4 separate regions of the Homo sapiens genome follow, and regions 2, 3 and 4 are each linked to region 1. The links are contacts of gene promoters, found by promoter capture Hi-C in blood cells and fetal thymus (Javierre and others, 2016). All regions are on one chromosome and are shown on one strand. Each heading gives the region's core, a stretch centred on a gene start or on the middle of the fragment in contact. The rest is flanking DNA. Distances are from core to core; before and after follow the strand shown.

Evidence for each region. The method cuts DNA at HindIII sites, captures the fragments that hold promoters and counts their contacts. A CHiCAGO score of 5 or more calls a contact.
Region 2: a fragment that was not itself captured here is called in contact with the fragment with the promoter of MANF in region 1 in 1 of 17 cell types (neutrophils); the score reaches 5.2 in neutrophils.
Region 3: a contact is called between a fragment that was not itself captured here and the fragment with the promoter of MANF in region 1, in 13 of 17 cell types (megakaryocytes, activated CD4 T cells, erythroblasts and 10 more). The highest score is 13.8, in megakaryocytes.
Region 4: a fragment that was not itself captured here is called in contact with the fragment with the promoter of MANF in region 1 in 17 of 17 cell types (M0 macrophages, endothelial precursors, megakaryocytes and 14 more); the score reaches 15.0 in M0 macrophages.

Annotation. Positions count from the first base shown.
Region 1 is chr3:51,383,176-51,387,561 of GRCh38, reverse strand. MANF (mesencephalic astrocyte derived neurotrophic factor) reads right to left here and starts at 2,271. Exons shown (of 4, transcript NM_006010.6): 1 at 2,126-2,271; 2 at 1,227-1,354. The coding sequence starts at 2,219. It overlaps DOCK3 (dedicator of cytokinesis 3), which reads right to left. Exons shown (of 53, transcript NM_004947.5): 53 at 3,364-4,386. RefSeq lists a silencer at 2,076-2,445 and an enhancer at 2,506-2,855. The HindIII fragment of the contact is 4,055 bases long and covers 1-3,780 here.
Region 2 is chr3:50,536,071-50,540,311 of GRCh38, reverse strand. LOC105377083 (a long non-coding RNA gene) reads left to right here and starts at 656. Exons shown (of 3, transcript XR_940833.2): 1 at 656-714; 2 at 2,231-2,340; 3 at 4,098-4,241. RefSeq lists an enhancer at 182-858 and a silencer at 2,356-2,597. The HindIII fragment of the contact is 2,628 bases long and covers 1,266-3,893 here.
Region 3 is chr3:50,647,235-50,651,513 of GRCh38, reverse strand. MAPKAPK3 (MAPK activated protein kinase 3) reads right to left here. Exons shown (of 11, transcript NM_001243925.2): 11 at 2,223-3,620. The coding sequence ends at 3,468. Among named protein-coding and RNA genes, the nearest start is that of LINC02019, 20 kb to the left of the region's middle. RefSeq lists enhancers at 1-436, 1,892-2,445, 3,937-4,279. The HindIII fragment of the contact is 5,654 bases long and covers 1-4,077 here.
Region 4 is chr3:50,579,226-50,583,635 of GRCh38, reverse strand. HEMK1 (HemK methyltransferase 1, mitochondrial release factors N(5)-glutamine) reads right to left here. Exons shown (of 11, transcript NM_016173.5): 9 at 3,697-3,792; 10 at 3,407-3,520; 11 at 1-3,255. The coding sequence ends at 3,219. Among named protein-coding and RNA genes, the nearest start is that of HEMK1, 12 kb to the right of the region's middle. RefSeq lists enhancers at 843-1,342, 1,343-1,844. The HindIII fragment of the contact is 8,059 bases long and covers 1-4,410 here.

The sequences.
Region 1 (4,386 bases), core at 1,022-3,521:
CTGTTGGGTGGTGATCCTCCCCTCTCAGCCACCCTAGTAGCTGGGTCTACCGGTGTGGGCCACCACACCCAGCTAACTAAAACAATTTTTTTTTTTTTTTGAGATAAAGTTTTGCTCTGTCACCCAGGCTGGAGTGCAGTGGCGCAATCTTGGCTCGGCTCACTGCAACCTCCGCCTCCCAGGTTCAAGCAATTCTCCCTGCCTCAGCCTCCTGAGCAGCTGGGATTACAGGCGCCTGTCACCATGCCTGGCTAATTTTTGTATTTTTTAGTAGAGATAGAGTTTTGCCATGTTGGCCAGGCTGGTCTTGAACTCCTGACCTCAGGTGATCCACCCACCTCGGTCTCCCAAAGTGCTGAGATTACAGGTGTGAGCCACCACGCCTAGCCTAAAAATTTTTTTGTGCAGACAGGATTTCACCACTTTGCCCAGGCTGATCTCAAACTCCTAAGTTCAAGCAATCCTCCCACCTTGGCCTCCCAAAGTGCTAGGAAGACAGGCATGAGCCACCGCACCTGGCCCACAGCGGCATTTTTCGGTGCCCTGCCTGTACTGGTAGTCAGATTCAGCCAGTGTAAACCCTGGACTCTTAACACATGCTCAGTCCAAGCTGACAGCCACCAAATGAATTTAAGTGTCACCAGGGTTCAAACCTTTAACAGAGAGAAAAGCCAGAGACTGTCAGAGAAATTCAAGTTAGAAAACCCATTGCTTCACTAGGGCTTTTGTCTTGGATTCGGCCCTTGCCTATCCTGTAGGCACCCTGTCACCTTCTCCTGTCCACATACATGCCACACTCTTTCAGGCCTCTGGGCACTCACACTGCTGTTCCCTGTATGGGATGGTCTTACCCCACTTCAATGATAACCCTTCCTCAGAGACTTCTTGGCCACTCTAAATCAGCACCTGCTGGTCCATTTTCTTCATGACACCCAGACATTGCATTATTTGTGTGTCCGACTGTCACTTCTTTCCCCTGATATTCCCAGTGCCTAGCACATAGTAGGTGCTTAATAAAGACTAACAGGATAAAAAAAAATCACAGTTGCAGAACACATGCTGCTTTGGGAAGGACATAGAAGCACTTCAGTCTTCTCACATTAGTTTATGGAGAGAGTAGCTGGCTTCCTGAACAGAGAGGTGGGCAAGGCCTTTTATCAAACGGCTGGTGAAGCCGAGGGTTAACATGAGCCAGGGCCAGTTGGGGAGGATCACCAGCTACTTACCAACCGATTCTCTTTGCCTCTTGCTTCCCGGCAGAACTTTATAAGTTCGTTTTCAATAGTGGCTGGTGAGAATGTGACATCTCTGTCTTTGAGGTCCTGGTAAAATCTTCCCAGATAAGAAATACAAACTGGAAAAGAGAGGGACGGGAGATGCTCAGCAATCACCAAGCTGTTCCAATCCACCAGAAAAGAACTCCGCCAGCAATTTTAATAGGAGACACGGAGATGAATCATTAGAGGTGAGCTTTTCCATCACCGATTTTTCTCAGGTGTCTACAGGTAGACAGAACCCGGTTCCAAGTGGCGGGGGTCCCCTGGTACACCCAGGGCATCAAAGGACCAAGCATCACCCAATGACCTATAAACGACTTCTCCCTGCTCCTTTCATCAAGTTTAAGCCCATGGTGAACACGTGTCCTTGAGACGGGACTCACTGTGACCTCATAAATGGAGAGACTGGAAGGTGAAGAGAAAAATGATCAAAATGCTGCTGCTAATTTCCAAATACAACAGCGGACCCAGAGGTGCAGCTTCGTGATCCCAACAGACAGGGCGCAGCACCCACGGCCAGCCCTGGAGCTCCCGACGCCGAACGGGGAGCGGTAACCTCTAGATGGTGGTGGGGACAATAACTCAGGAGTGATGGAGATTTCAGGACAAGTTTTCAACGGGATCTAGTCTCAACTTTTCTTCGTCGGACCAATGTTTTCTAGGCCCAAGAAAGATTTACTAGGGCGGGCGCCGGAGCCTCCTCATGCAGGCCCCGCGGGGACCTGCTGTCGCCCCCGCCCCCGCCCCCGCCCTCGCCCTCTTGGCCCCGGCCGTCTGGTGATGTTGTGGGGTTCAGCGCCGCCGCCAGAACGGTCACGGAGCGCGGCCCCCGGCCCCCTATCCCGCACCTTCGCAGTCGCCCGGCCGCAGCGCCCGGCTGCCCGGCAGCACGCTCAGAGCCAGCGCCACCGCCAGCCCCTGCGTGGCCCACATCCTCCTCATCCTCCTCATCCTCCTCCTCCTCCTCCTCCTCCGCTGCCGCCGCCGACCGACTGAACCGCACCCGCCGCGCCGCACCGCCTCCAAGTCCCGGCCGCGCGCCGTAGCTCCCCATTGGCGGGGGGCCCCCCGGCGCCCTCCCACATGCCACTTCCCCATTGGTCCAGGAGCCGCGAGCCCAGACGGGCGGCTCCACGCTGCCCTCCCTCATTGGCTGGTGGTGTCTGAGCCCTAGACAGTTGTCGGCCGCTGATTGAACCCGGGCTGGCCGCAGGAAGCGACTACAGCAGCGACGGAAGCGGTGTGGGCCGCCATCTTGGGTAAGGGCAGCGACTGTGGCTGAGGCTGGGTACTGCTAGCTGAATGGGGTTCGGCCACGCCTTACATCTGTTGAGTTGACCCGCGTACCCCTGCCCTGGGCCCCAGGCTCCCTCGAAAACCCCTGCTGATCTCCTCGCCCGGACTCCGACTCGTGGTGCAGGAGTTCTGGGGTCAGCCAAGACAACAGGTTAGGCAGGAAGGGCGGGCGGCCGCAGGCAAGGCTCAAAGAGGTTTCTTTTTTCTTCTTTCATTCGCGTGGGCAACGGATCCAACCTTTGAAAGCCCACCTGCTGATCCTCCACCTGACCGGAGCCCGCCGTGCATAGGCTGATAGGAGACGTGCGGGGTGGACGGACTGCGGGACATCTGAAGGAAGGGCTCAAGGCGCGCCAAGCTCAAAGCTGGGCCGCCACTCTAGACCGTGGAGGGAAGCGCCCGGGCCAGATCATCGGTCGAGGACATGGGGTCGCCTCAGAGTGGGAAGGTGAGGGGCTCGGGAGGTGCCCTTACAAGCTCTGAATCGTGGCTTGGTGGCTGGCCAGCCTCCTCCTGCCTCCCCGGCTAGGCCCTCGGGGTCCCCCGCTGCCGTGGGACCTCCTGAGTGGGGTCCCGGGAATCACCAGAGAAGCACTGGAGGATGTTTCCTTTTCGACTGCCCTCCTTTCAAGTGCCCTCCTGGCTGCCTGCCTTCAAGGCAGGATGCGGGAACCGTTGGCTCTACTCAGTGCAAAAAGGACATGTCTATAGGGCTAAAAAGGGCTTGGAGCCCGGCGACAAGGGTTGGAGAGGGGCACATCCTCTGCTCCCATTCAGTGAATTCAGTGGATCAGTATCACGTATTTATCTTTAATTCACATCACAGCAGTCAAGGAAGTGGGGAAAGGGGGAAAAAAAATCAAGTGGCAGATATTTACATCTAAAATTCACATTACTTGTTGGATTTTGAACATGCTACCACAATATATACAGTAAAATACCTCTTGGGACAATGGTACAAATTTTGTTTCCTTTAACTTTGCTTTTCTGGTACAGGTAAGATCATTTTTAAATCACTTTTTTTCTTTAAACATGAATACACAAAAGAAATGGTTAGAAGTTTCCTTGTTTTAAATAAGCACAGAATGCGGGAGGTTAAAAACACATTTATAGTGCTGAATACCAATTGGACATCACACTCTATACATTTTTTGCTCAAATTCCTGTACAAATACACAGCATTCAAATAGGTATTTACAAATAAGCTTGAAAGAATGAAAATCAGTATTTTACAATCTTTTCAAAGGGTTCTCATCTCTGGCCTCCCATTTCCCCTCAGACTGACTTATTCTCCAACAAAAGGGATTTCAGAATGTGTCCTTTTCATTTAGTTAGGGAAAATGGAGAGGGAAAACAAACGGTTTCACCTTGCATAATGCGAAGCCAAATGAACCCATACTCCCCTCCCTACCTCTTGTGCCACCAAGTGGAGAAGGTAGCTGTTCTTATGTGATGACTGCCTTGTCCAGGGATTGACTTTCAGAAGTGCCTTAAAATCTAAGCCCTCCTACCTATGAATCAAATCCAAAACTAGCCCCTAACCCCTAACCCTCTAACACCTGTGAACACCAGATGGTCCAGAGATTGAAGCTTGCAAATGAATGTAGGCTGAGAAGCAGGCCAGCCCTTTGAGGTGAGGGCTGCTGTAACTGACCCATATCCTCAGCAGCCTTCCGCCCCACTCTGCCTGGAGTGAACCTGGTGGTATCAGAAGGGACCCACACTGGTGATAAACCCCCAGAAAAACCCTGGAGGTAATTTAGACCTCCATCTTTCCCAGTAGGTTATTAGCATTTCTGTTAAACAAGCTGGG
Region 2 (4,241 bases), core at 1,330-3,829, 850 kb after region 1:
GCCTCCGTGAGAGGCCACTGTCCTGCCCTGGAGGGGGAGAATGGGGGTGTCCCCAAAATCTGCCTCTGAGAATGACAGCATGCCACACAGGCTGGTGTGGGCCTGTCTTTACCTGCCCCAGGTGAGAGGCTACAGGCACCAAGCCGAGTGTGGGAATCTGAGAGACCACATGTGGCCAAGCACGTGTGAGGACACGGCTGCAAAGGACACACGTGCGCAATGGGCCAGGCTCCAGCAGGGCAGGGATAGTCCCTGTTGCCTCCGTGAGCTGACATGCATGTCTGTTGAGGTGTTATCATTCCAGGCTCGTGGAGGATGGGTTGTAACTTGTCTTCTTTGATTGGAGGAGAGCCCTGAGCTCAGGGAATCTGTCTTGTCCCTCCTGACCCTGCCCAGGTCCAGAGGCCTGGGTCTGCTTAGACAGCTCACTGTGCAGTGGAGATGGGTAGGTGTGGGAGGCCTTTCTCCTGGCTCAACAAGGGCACAGCGGTACCCTGAAGCGAGAGCTTCCTCCTCCCTTCTCCCATCTCACTAGGGCAGCCGCCCTTCTTCCTGGGTTTCCACCCACAGGCCCAGGACAGGCCCTTGAGCCCCTAATCCCTGCCCTCCCATCAGTGACTGCGCCTTTCTCCCCAACCTTATCTGTCTCCTGCAGCCATCGTCAACTCCCCTGTGGCCCGGGCTCCCCCTCCCTCCAGCCTCCCCGCAGGTCAGGTTGGTATGTCCTCTCCCCCCTCCCCACCCCCGTCTCCCGGGCTCCTCCGCTCCCTCTTCCTCTCCTCTCTTCACCTTCCTCCTCCTTTCCCTCTCCTCCTCCCCACTCCCAGTCAGCCTGCCCTCCTATCTGCCTGTCTCCCTCTTTTCTTCCTCCCCCTGCTTCCCCTGCTTCTTTCCCTTTCCTGCCTTTCCTTCCTTCATCCTCTCCTCCCCCGTCCTCCCTAGGGGAGAGGAGGGATTTGCAGGGTCGGGGGCAGCCACTGCACTCAGTTACCCCAGGTCAGCCTAAGAGGCCCCAGCACAGAGACCCCTTTGGCTGCTTTCTTCTAAACCGGAATCTAATTGTGATCAAGTGAGGGAGAAACAGCTAATTACACCCAACAAACAGAGGCCCCCTGGGCTGTTTTATGGTGGAGATGAGAAGGTATAGGAAGGGGCACGTTTACCTTGCAAATGTGGGCTGGGACCCAAAGGGTTTGTGTCTGGCCTGGCAGCCTGAATGAGCTCCCTGGGAGCTGGAGCCCTCAGGAAGGCTTCAGGAGGAAGCTTTGTCTTCCAGGTCAGGAGAGGAAAAGGAACATCTTCCCTCACCCATCACAAGGGTCGTGACTGACACCCTTATAACAAAAGACAGATTGACAGAAAAGCAGAACACATTGATTTCACCAAAGTTTTAATGACTGGGGAGCCTGAGGAAATGAAGATCCAAGGACCTGGGAAAACAGAATATTTTTATGCTAAGTCTGATGAAAGAAGTTGTGGAGAAATGCTTAAAGCAAAAGGGCATGGCCTAATGCTAATAAGCTGGGAGCAGGGCTTCAGCAAGACCCATTTGTTCAGGTTTCTTACTGGGTCTCTCCATGATAGAGGTGCTCTCGCCCCTGCCCAGGGGCAGAACCCCTGTCTCAGGAGGACCTTTACAAGAGAAGGGAGGAAGTCAGAAAGTGACCTTTCTAGGTTTTATGGTTTGCTTGGCTAGGAGAGGGGTTCTAGTTCCTATGACCACTTTCGGGGAGAAAAGGGAGTGGAAAAAAAGGAGGGCTGGAGAAGGGCAGAGTGACCTGCAAGGTGCCGTATTCTGGAGTCATGTTTCTTTCTTTCTTTTTTTTTTTCTTCTTTTTTGAGACGGAGTTTCGCTCTTGTCCAGGCTGGAGTGCAATGGCGCGATCTCAGCTCACCGCAACCTCCCTCTCCTGGGTTCAAGCGATTCTCCTGCCTCAGCCTCCTGAGTAGCTGGGATTACAGGCATGCGCCACCACACCCGGCTAATTTTGTTTTTTTAGTAGAGACGGGGTTTCTTCATGTTGGCCAGGCTGGTCTCCAACTCCTGACCTCAGGTGATCCACCCACCTCAGCCTCCCAAAGTGCTGGGATTACAGGCGTGAGTCACCACGTCTGGCTGGAGTCGTATTGCTTGAGCCCCAACAATACCATGCACCGAATACCACATACCGCACACCGTGGAGCGTCCCAGTGCTGGGGGCTACCACGCAGCTTTCTTTCTTGGCCTCAGGTCTTCAATCCTCCCATCTGTACCAGGGTGTGGAGTGCAGACCCAGCCCAGTTGGTGACCTGACCAAGATCCATTCCTGCCACAGCTACTTTCTACCTGTGAGCTCCCCAGTAAGTCACTTAAACTCCCAAAGCCTTACTTTCCTCATCTGCTCAATGGGGTCATGGGGCATGCCTCTGCCACAGGGCATGTGAAGACTTCAGCAGTGGCCTGGTATACCAGACATTGCCCATAGGAGCCAGGACCAGAGAGTATCACTGTTGAAAGCAGCAAGATGAACCTAGGTTAGCAGTGAGCAGAAAGGACAATGACACTCCACCCCCCGGAAAAAGAGATGCAGTTTGGTTTTACCCCTGACCTTGCAAACACAGACAGGGAAACTGAAGAGGCTCCAGCAGGCTGGGTGTGACTTGGGAGGTGTGCTCCCTGAGGAGCTCATTCCTTGTGTTCAAGAGGAGGGAGAAATGGGGGCTGTGTGGGCAGGAGACAGAATGACTGGAAGGACTGTGATAACAACCAACTTCAACCGTGGTGTGAAAGCTCCAGCACATAATAGGTACTCAGCAAGGGCTCACTGTCCTGAGTTCTGCCTCCTCCAGGAGGTGCCTTCCCTGTGCCCCACCTCTTCTCCAGTTCCTGGGATCAGCTCAGGGCAGGTGAGAGTCCAGGTGCTGCCTGGCACAGGGTGTCAGAGGAGGGGAGATGATGTGTGAGTGGGAGACCTGCTCAGAGTGTCTGCCCCAGGGGCTCCCCCGGGGTGACTGACACCCCCACAGACACACAGACTGATGGGTAGAGATGGAGAGCCTCCACTTCTCTGGCCAGGCCTGCAGCTGGCCAGCTCCTACCCCTCCAGCCCTGTCCCGAAGGTGCCTCAGCCTCTGCTGTGTCCAGGGATATCTCAGAGAGGTGTGGCTGGAGTGGTCTGTTGAGGTTTGATCATGGAGGCCTTGAATGCCAGGCCCAGGACAGGATAGTAATAACAGCTGTTGGCTGCAGCTGGAAGCACAGTCAGCCAGTATAGATGTGTGTGTGGGAGATGGTGACGTGTGTGTGTGTGTGTGTGCCTGTGTGCACCCATGGCTGGCCACGTGGGATGTGGGGTGTGACTGTGCTAGGGTGTTACCCATGTGGAAACACAAGGGTGTGTGTGTGTGTGTGTATGCATGTGTGGGTGGGTGCATGCACTCCTCTTCTGCTGCCCTGGCATCCCAGGGAAGCACACCCACACTGCTGCACTCCCAGGTGCACAGGCAGGTGCCCACTGAAGGTCTGAGCCATCCCAGCTCTCTACCTGCCCACCAGCTCACCCACCTCTGCCAATAGGCCATGCAGGCAATGAACACATCAGGTAATTAAGCAGGAGATCAATTCAACTTAAGTTGGAGGAAAGCAGCCGTGCCTAGTGGAGAGGAGAGACAGGGCTGCAGGAGGCTGAGGCTGAGCAGGGAGTGGGTGGGGAACTGGCAGGGAAAGATGGGAGGGGGTGGCTGCTGGAGTGGGATGTGCCATGCACCCTGCGGAGGGGAGCAGAAGCCAAAAGGAGAGGAAAGGAACTACGAGGACCAAGGCCACTGACCAAGGGGGCAAGGAGGGGACTGGCTGGTGGCAGAGAGAATGGGAAAGATGTAAGGAAGAACCAAGGCCAGCAACAGGACAAGCTTGTGTCTCCTCAGCTTCCCAGGGGTTCTCTCCTGGTGGGGCAGGGGCCAGCGGTCAGGATGGGTCTATCACCCAGCTTCCCAGATGGCTCACAACCTCTTCTGTGGTCCTGCTAGCCCCGAGCATGTGCACAGAACTTGACCCTGTGGGCTCTGCTGGGGGTGCCGAGGAGGATCTTTGACCATGCCCCATTGTTCACCAGCAGAACTGGCCCCAGATGTGAAGGCCCCGTCACTGGAAGGTCATCCATTCATTCAATGAACACGCACCGAGAGCTGCTGAGCACCAGCTCAGGGTCTGACATGGGCCGACTCCAGGAGGAATCACACGCTGGCCGCCCTCGAGGGGG
Region 3 (4,279 bases), core at 1-2,500, 740 kb after region 1:
GAGATAATGGGGCAATCTTTCCATCTGCTCTTCTGCTAACTGCTTCTAGGGCACCCCTCCCCACCTAGTTACAGGAGGGGCCCTACCCTCTCCCCAACAACAGCAAGGGGCCAAATGTGACCAACAAGAACCCTCCCCTGAAACTGACATGTGGACACCTGAGCAGATGACCTCCCCAGCTAGAACTTCTGCAGCTCTAGTTTTGCCAGAGCTATGGAGAAGGCAAAAAAAAAAACCCAGTGCAGGCAAAGGATCAAGGACAGCCCCAGGAAGAAGCACAGACTGGCAGAGCAGAGTGGCAGACGGGAGTCCTAGAGCAGGGAGACCCTCTGTCCCTGAGGCCCTGGTCCCTGCACTTCTGCCTGCAACCCTGTATCCTATCAGGCACCTTTCCCAGCACTGGGATGCATATATTCTCTCTTTGGCTCAAACTGTCCCATGACACCTCCTTCTCCTGGAACCATGTTCTTCCATCACAGATCATATCAAGACCTTGATTAAACTTTTTTTTTTTTTTTGAGATGGACTTTTGCTCTGTCGCCAGGCTGGAGTGCAGTGGCGTAATCTCGGCTCACTGCAACCTCCGCCTCCCAGGTTCAAGTGATTCTCATGCCTCAGCCTCGCGAGTAGCTGGGATTACAGGCACCTGCCACAACGCCCAGCTAACTTTTTATATTTTAGTGGAGATGGGGTTTCACCATGTTGGCCAGGATGGTCTTGATCTCCTGACTCTGTGATCTGCCCGCCTCGGCCTCCCAAAGTGCTGGGATTACAGGCGTGAGTCACCACGCCCGGCCAATTTAACATTTTTCAACATGTGATGTTTTCACCTTCTCCCGCATGAATGTAAACACCTTGAGGTGAACTCCCTGTCTGAAGTTCTCACTGCAGCCTTCCTTGCACCCAGCACAGCATCTCAGGTACACTGGATGCTTGGCAGCCAAGCAAGGAAGGCCATCTGTGCCTCCACAGCTTTGAGACTAGATGGACTACATCTACCTTTGCATCTGGCCAGCATTCCTCCAAATGTAGGGTATACTAGGAAGGCTGGGCTGAACCACAGGCTCCATGGAGTCTCTTGAATTTATCTGGCTACCCTCCTGGAAGCCCAGTACTGGAAACAAAGCCCAGGAGGCCCACATGATGCTGCTCTGGGGAGCAGGCCCTTGGAAATGAAACCCCATGGGTGAGGAAGCCCTGATTGTCTGGATAGAAAGTTCCTGAGGTAGATTTGGGGTTGCTTTTTCTTCTAGAGACTTCTAGATACTCTAGATATTCTCTCCTTCCTGAGGCAGACTTGGGGCTGCTTTTTCTTCTAGAGACTTCTAGATACTCTAGATATAACTCTAGATACTTCTCTCCTTCCTGATGACTAAGGATGTTAGAGTAGCTAATGAGTGTGGGGCATGAGCCACGCACCTGGCACCTCACTAAGTACTTCACACACATCATCTGCTCAAATCCCCCACATGACTCCATGAGATGGGCATTATCATCGCCAGGACACAGCTGAGGAAACTGAGGCCAAGAAAGCTCCCAAGGTCACCAGGCTGGGAAGCAGCAGAACATCTCAGGCGTGTTTGCCTGTCCCCTGCCTTCCAGCATCTCTGCACCCTCCCCCACGCCCTGAAGGAAGTGGGGGTGGAGGAGAGAGCGCTGCAGGCAGCAGATGAGCTCTTGGAAAACTGGGAGGTTTCTCAAGATAGGAGCTGGGAGAGAAATGCCACAGTTAGGGCCCTCCTTGAAGCTACCCACAAGGGCTCCGGAGGGGTGAGAGTGCTCTCTTACTGGAGTAGTCAAAAGACAGTCTTGCAGCATGCCGCCCCCTCCCCTCCTCGATATTCTCACTGCCAAATGAAATCTGGCAGTTTCTGAAAATAGCTCAGCGCTGCAGCAGGCACTCTGCCCGCCCTTCAGCAGGCTGGCACACAGCTGGGGGTGGCCACTCTGGGCAGATGCTGGCACACACAGGACCGGGGGTAGGTGTCACACACACTGCACAGGGGCAGCACAGAGCTGGGGGCATGTGGCAGCTGCCATCCCTCAGCTCTTCTGACCTTTCTAGGCCTGGCGAGGACTCTGGCCTTGGAGTTAGCATGGCATGCTTATCAGGCCTGAGGCACCCCCTCCAGCTGGGGTGAAATCACTAGTGGGTCTGAGAAGCTGCCCTTGGGCCACCTTTGTCCACCCCTGTAGACAAAGAGTAAACCCAGGAGCCAAGAGAAAATGATGAAATGGTGTTTATTACTATCTGGATGTAAAACCCAGCAGTGTTGTCCTATCTGACATGGTCTAGGGTTTCCCAGCCAGTGAGAGAGGGGCCAGGAAGGAACTAGGCTGCGTGTCAGGCACTTGTCAGGCAGTATCAGGCACTCAGCACCCTAAGGCTACCATGGTGGGGTGGGGCTGGTAAGCTCTGATCAGCCAGGAAAGGCCCTCTCTGCCCTACTCAGGCCCAAGCCAGGACCAGACATTCTGAGCATGGCTCAGTCGCCTTCCCCAACCTCAGGTCTGACCCAGAGTAAAGAAAGAGACCTCAGGTTAATGGGAAGCCACTTAGCTCTGCTCCCAACCAGCCACTTTCACACAAGTATACCAAAAGATAGCCCCTGACTTCAACAGAGAGGGGCTTTCCTGCCTGAGATCTGGTGAGCAGATGGGTGCAGGGAAAGTATGCTGGCTTTTGTCACAGTGACATTTTCCAAAGTGGAAAAAAGTTAAAAATATCTCCCACCTTAAGTTCAGATGAAAAGTCACCCTTTGGGTCGGGAATAGTGAGGGGATGGCTAGGCCCAGGGACTCCCTCAGGGGAGAGCGCTGAGTGCCATCTGGGCTGGGGCTGCAGCAAGGCAGGGCTGGACTGCACAGGGAGGCAGGCAGACCGGATCCAGCAGCCTCAGGGCCCAAGGAGGAGTGAGAATGAGAGGGCCAGCCAGTGTGTGAGAAATCAGCCTCCCCAAGGCAGAGGTGAACCCTCAATCGCCCCTCCTCCCTTACTCGCTCACTCAGCATTCACAGGCAGCAACGTGGTCCCTGGTCACCATGGCAACCAATGGCCAATGCCTTTCTCAAGGCCAGGCCCATCTGCCCATCCCACAGGGAGATGTCTCTGTGGAAGATGGGAAGCCCAGCCACAACTCCCAGTGGCCTAGAAAGCTAAGGCCATGCACCAGGGCAGGACAGCACAGAGGCCTCACTCGGGCCAACCTAGCTAAAGGTGCTGCTATGGCAGCAGGCAGCTCCCAGCCCCTAGGCCCTGCCCATCTCTAGGGCTTGAGCCTGGGCCAGAGATCTGAAGGAGGTTTAGGGTCAGGGTCCTCCATCCTGAAGTTCCGAGTGACAAATTAAAACACAACAAAATAATCCTTTTGTTAAAAGAATGACCCTGGGCCCTCCTGGCCAGGGCCTGAGCACATTTCAGTCTGTTATGCAGGCTGAGAGGCCAGGCTCCTCCAAGGCCCCATGAGCTACTGGTTGTTGCAGCCCTGTGAGGCAGAGGAGCTGCCTGCCTGCTTTTTTCTCCTCTTGTTGAGGAGCCGGTTGTTAGAGGTCTTCAGGTCCTTGATCTTCACCTGGTCGTAGTCTACCCGCATAGTGGCCAAGGCACTGGTCATCTCCTCCTGGGGACAGACAGGATGGTGGGCACTAAGAGGTCAGGATGTACTGACCTTAGGAACCATCACCCCCCTGCCTGGGCAGCCCCTTAATGTCAGTGACAGCCTGTGCTGCCTCTGTGCCCACTGTGTGCCCAGCACTGGGCCAAGCCCTTTGCATCACATGATCCTCACTACCGTCCTCTGTGGTAGACACTGAGCTTATTCACTAAGGCACAAAAGGAGAGTTACTCCCTCGGACCACACCAAGGGTAAGTGGGATAGTGAACTAAACCAGTTCCACCACAGAACCACAAGACCTGCAGAGAATGCCATCTCGCTGGGCAACCAGCGCACTGGGGCCTGGAGATTGTGCCACTGGAGCTGCTACTCCATATGTTCAAACGTGGCCTCTGCTGGGTCTAAACCAGGCTGACCACCCTCCCAAATGTTGTTGGTTATAAGAGAGGTCATCATCCAAGCTTGGTACCAAAGCCCCGTTTCATTGAGGAAGTGAGCCAGGAGCACCACACTGAATGGCGTAGTGAGGCCCAATCCTTGGAGTGCCATGGTTGGACCACTGCGACAGTCACTGACACCCTGTGCTCCAGGTATAGAAAGGGGCCAAAGACCCCAGACCCTGGGTAGCCACCCCCCTGAAGTCCCTTTTGCCCAAATCCTGGCAC
Region 4 (4,410 bases), core at 179-2,678, 800 kb after region 1:
AAAAAGAGAAAAGAATCGAAGGTGGATAGGGAAAGACATGCTGTCCCGCAGAGGTTAAAGGGGTTCTCACCTCAAGCCAGCAGTTCTCAAACCTTGTCAGCAGTGGAGCCCTTTGTTCTGATGACAGCCTACTCAGAGCACTGATGGGGCCTTGGGAGGGGCCCCCAGGGCTTTTCCCACAGTTGTCCTCCCCCACCTCTTCAGAACTGGATTCCATAGGACACAAGAGAACACACTTAAGTCATGGGGAGCCAGCTAAGTGTTTGGGGCAAGGATTGGGAGCAGCCAATAGCCCAGGGTCCAGGTGGGGGTAAAGGAGCAAAAAAGAGTATTTTTTGCATTTAGGGGGTTCGGGGCCTATTTCAATAAGGCAGCTGTATGAGACCCATGGAGAAACCCACTGACAACTGGGAAAAGCATCCAACTGTGAGACAAGGCCTCAGTTTCCCCAACTATCAGAAGAGGAGATAGAATTACTCTCCCAGAGTACATCAAACAGGGACTCCTACACTCCTGTCTATGCTCTGGGCTCTGGCTGAAGGAGGCTGCACGGGCAGTGGGCACATCTCTCAAGACCTCAGGGGCTTGCACAGCCTGGACTCCATCAGCTCCATGTCCTCCTCCCATTCTGCCTGCAAGTGCTCCTTGACATATGCTGGTGGTGGTGGGGAGGCTGTTCGAGTCTCTGGCTTTGGCCTCAGGAGCAAGGGAGGGGATAGGGCAGGTGGGCCTGGCTTTCCCTGAGCTAGAGCCACTGGCTGCCCTGGCCTGGGCCTCAAGGCACTGGGGCCATAGTGAGGAGAGGCTGAGGGGAGATGTAGGCTGCCAGGCTACCAGCCTGCTGGCTCCATCTCTAGACAACAGTGAGGAGTCAAGAGCCCAAGACTGAAACTCCTGCCTTCCCTTCTTTCCAGACTGCCTTGTATCCCTGCCTGCCTTATGTTGGTCCCATGCATCAGATGGACGCCTGAGGGCACTGGGTCCTTCCTCCCTGTGTCTGCCCTCCGAGGAAGGCAAGGAAAAATGCCACAATGTGCCAAGCCAGGCACATCCCATGGGCTCCTCACATGCATCCTATAAAATAAAGCATTAAGTCCCATTTCTCAGCCTTAGAAGCCAAGGCTGAGTGAGGTGAAGTCATCTGCCCAAGGTCACATCCTCGTGAGGGGCAGATTCTGGGATTGAAATCCAGGCTGGTGTGGCTCCAACATCTGGGCTCAACGTCCAGGGCCCAATCAAGCCAGTGGCTGCAGGCTTGAGGCCCCGCCTGCCAGTCCTCTTGGCTTGGACCTTTTCCTCAGCAGAGTCAAGCTGCACATTTTTCTGGGCAGAAAGTTGTGCCCGAGGCCGGCTCCTGCTTGTGGCCCCAGCTGCCCCGACAGTGTCACTCTCCAACACTGCACTCTCTTCTGGTGCAACATCCACAAGCTCGCCAAGGCCCTTCCTCAGGAATGGGCCTGAGGCCAGGAGGGAGAGACCATCAGGGAAGCCAGGACTGGCTGAGGTGTAGGGGGGCGACAGACTGCTCCGAGGTCAGGGCAGCTACCCTGAGATGCTGCTGAAGACAGCAAGAGCCAAAGGGCACAAGGAGAAAGACAGAAAGGGCAATACTGGTGAGGACCTTAGCAGGCAAAGGTCTGTGAGCATGGGGGACTAAGGAAGTGGGGAGCCTTGCCCTGGTTGTGCACCCCCTTCGCCCTCCCCACCCAGGTTCCTTCTGGAGCAGCCTCCTTAAAGGAAGCCAGGGGCAGCTCAGAGTCCATGCAGCTGGGGCTGGGCACAGGGCAGGACACTGGGGCACTGGGAGCTGCAGTGTGACCTCTACCAAATGTGTCCTCCAGCCATAGTGCAGGGCAACACTTAGGCTGGGTATGACTCCAGCAATATAGGCTCCCCAAAGGGAGGGATCTAACTTACTGTCTCCACTTGGTCACTGTCATGTGACCTCAGGCAGTACATACCTTCTCTTGCTCTCCATGCCTGGCGAATGGACATTCAGATGCCAGCATGCACATTCCACTTGACTAAGAGTAAAGAGGTTGCCAGTTGGCGTTGGCCCTGGACTCAGAAGAGCCAGCTTCTCATAGGGAAAGGAGTTGCCCAAGGTCCCACTGCAGGACACAGCCCTGGAACTCAGCTCTCCCAGCTGCAGCAGAGGATGCTGCCTATTGGACCATACTGCCCATCAGACCATACTGCCAGGCCCTGGGAAGTGCCAGGGTGGCAGGGGGCAGTCTAGTGGAATGAGACAGCCTGGTTTGCCATGTTTCTTAGGACCCACCCTGATGTAGGCTCACATCACCAGCACTCACCAACCTAGAGATTTCCTGTCGCTGTTGACAGGAAGGCTGGATCTGCAGGCCTCCTGGTGGCCATGAGTCTGCACAGACCAGAGCTGGGGTGGAGGCCACAACCCTGTGCCCAGTATCTCAGCTTCTCACTCTCCCCAGCCCCAACCAGGGACACATGGGTTATTTGAAACCCCAGGGGGTCAACTCGGGAGGGATGTTTTAGCTAAAAGCTATGGGGATAAAAAGGAAACACCCCTCACTGGCTCAAGCCTTCAGTTAAATGAACGTGGATGTGCGACCCAGGAACTGTGCAGCAAAGACCTCCAGACCCTCCCCTCCAGAAAGCAGGCAGTCATCCTTGAGCCAAAACGCAGATGAGCTTCCTGTGCTCGAGCCAGGCTTGGCCAGGGAATTGTGTACGCATGCACCCAGGGCAGTGGAGGACTAATCAATCCCTGGGAGTGAGCTGCTCTATGCCAGGACCCATGGTATCCAAGGCCAGGAGTGAGGACTCACGTGCCTTCCTCCACACTGCACCCCCACACCACTACCAAGCAGGGGACTGACGGCCAGCCCTGCTGGGGCAGAAGGAAACCCTTGCCCCAGTGCTACCTGGGAGTAAGGGGGTCAGGGGACCTGCAAGTCATGGACAAAACATTAGGTCACCATTTGTTAGTCTCTCAATACTTTACTGGCCATATCCCCCGATACCCCCACAGCAATTTCACCAACACAGAGCAACTGCCCTCAGCCACTCTGATGTGATGGAGCCAATCCAGGTGTCCTAGAAATATCCTAGAAATGCAGAGCATGGGGAAATCACAGAACCCTGGGAAATGCCATAAGAACCTGGGCTCTGGAAAGTGCCATCCACCTCCCCTCTGGTCAGGCTGGCGGCACTGACAAGGCATCCACAGGGCAGCCATGCTATGGCCCAGACCTCCGGATATGCAGGAACCGGGGCCTGAGGAGACAGGGACAGGGGCTGGTTACCACCTGGGCCTCAGGGAATGAACAGGAAGTGGGAACAGCACACTCTCCTGACAGCCAGGGCTGAGGATGGCCCCAGTGGAAAGACCAGCATGCTACAGGGCTAAAGGGGGCTAGGATCTTACCTCCCACAGAAGTCCCTGCGCACAGCCACAAGATTAAGGTACAGGTCAGGCCGGCTCTGAAGCCAGCTGCTGACAAGCTCCGGGTGCCTTGGGTCCACTTCTAAGAAGATACTACTACATGGGGGAGAAATGGGTGGGCTCAGCAGGACAGGTCTGGCGCCTGCCCTTCTGGGCTGCTTGGGCTGGCGAGGTGAGGGTCCTGTGCTGACCTCTGCCAGGGCCTGCCCAGTACACATTAGGAGCAGAGGAGCCTGCTGGGGACAGACCTAGGAGACCCATCCCATTCATACCCAGAGTCTTTCAGGAGCCGGGGTGCCAAGGCCAGAATGTGGGTAATGATGTCCATGCCCTCCTCCCCACCATCCAGGGCCGCGGGGTCTTCATAGCTGAAAGGCAAAGCAGTGGGAGGTGACAGCCTGAGAAAGGGGTATCTGAAATGCATGGAGGGCATGGGCAAGGCCTCCATGAATGGGGCCCTGTGGAACTTACACTCTGGGCTGAAGGGCAAATCTGAGGACCCAGAGAAGGAGGGCCCCAAATGGGTGGCAGCTCCTCTTCTCTTCCTCCCATGGGCAGCACCCTACCAGGCAGCGCCAGGCATGCTTGCTGAATCCCACTGGCTGATGGCCTCTCTTGATGCACTGACTCATGTCAGGGCATGAGTGTCTCCCCACAGGCTGCTCCTCTTCTTGGTCTGGGAGATCTGGGGCTAGCCCTGACCACTCCTGAGAGCCCAGAAAGGGAGAGCCAACACCCCAGCCCCATCCAACATGACTGCTGCCCCATCCAGGACTCCTGGGCTGCCCCTGGTTCTCAGCCCCTGTGTAAGAGCAGGATGGCCTGGCACAAAGCTAGCCTGGGGCCAGCTTTTAGTCCCGGCTTTCCCACTGAGCCCCCATGCGACCACAGACAAGACACCTTCCCTCTCTGGGCCTCAGTATTCTATAAAATGATGCGCCCATCTACTGAGCACCCTGTATGAGCCCTCCACTGTGTTTGATGCT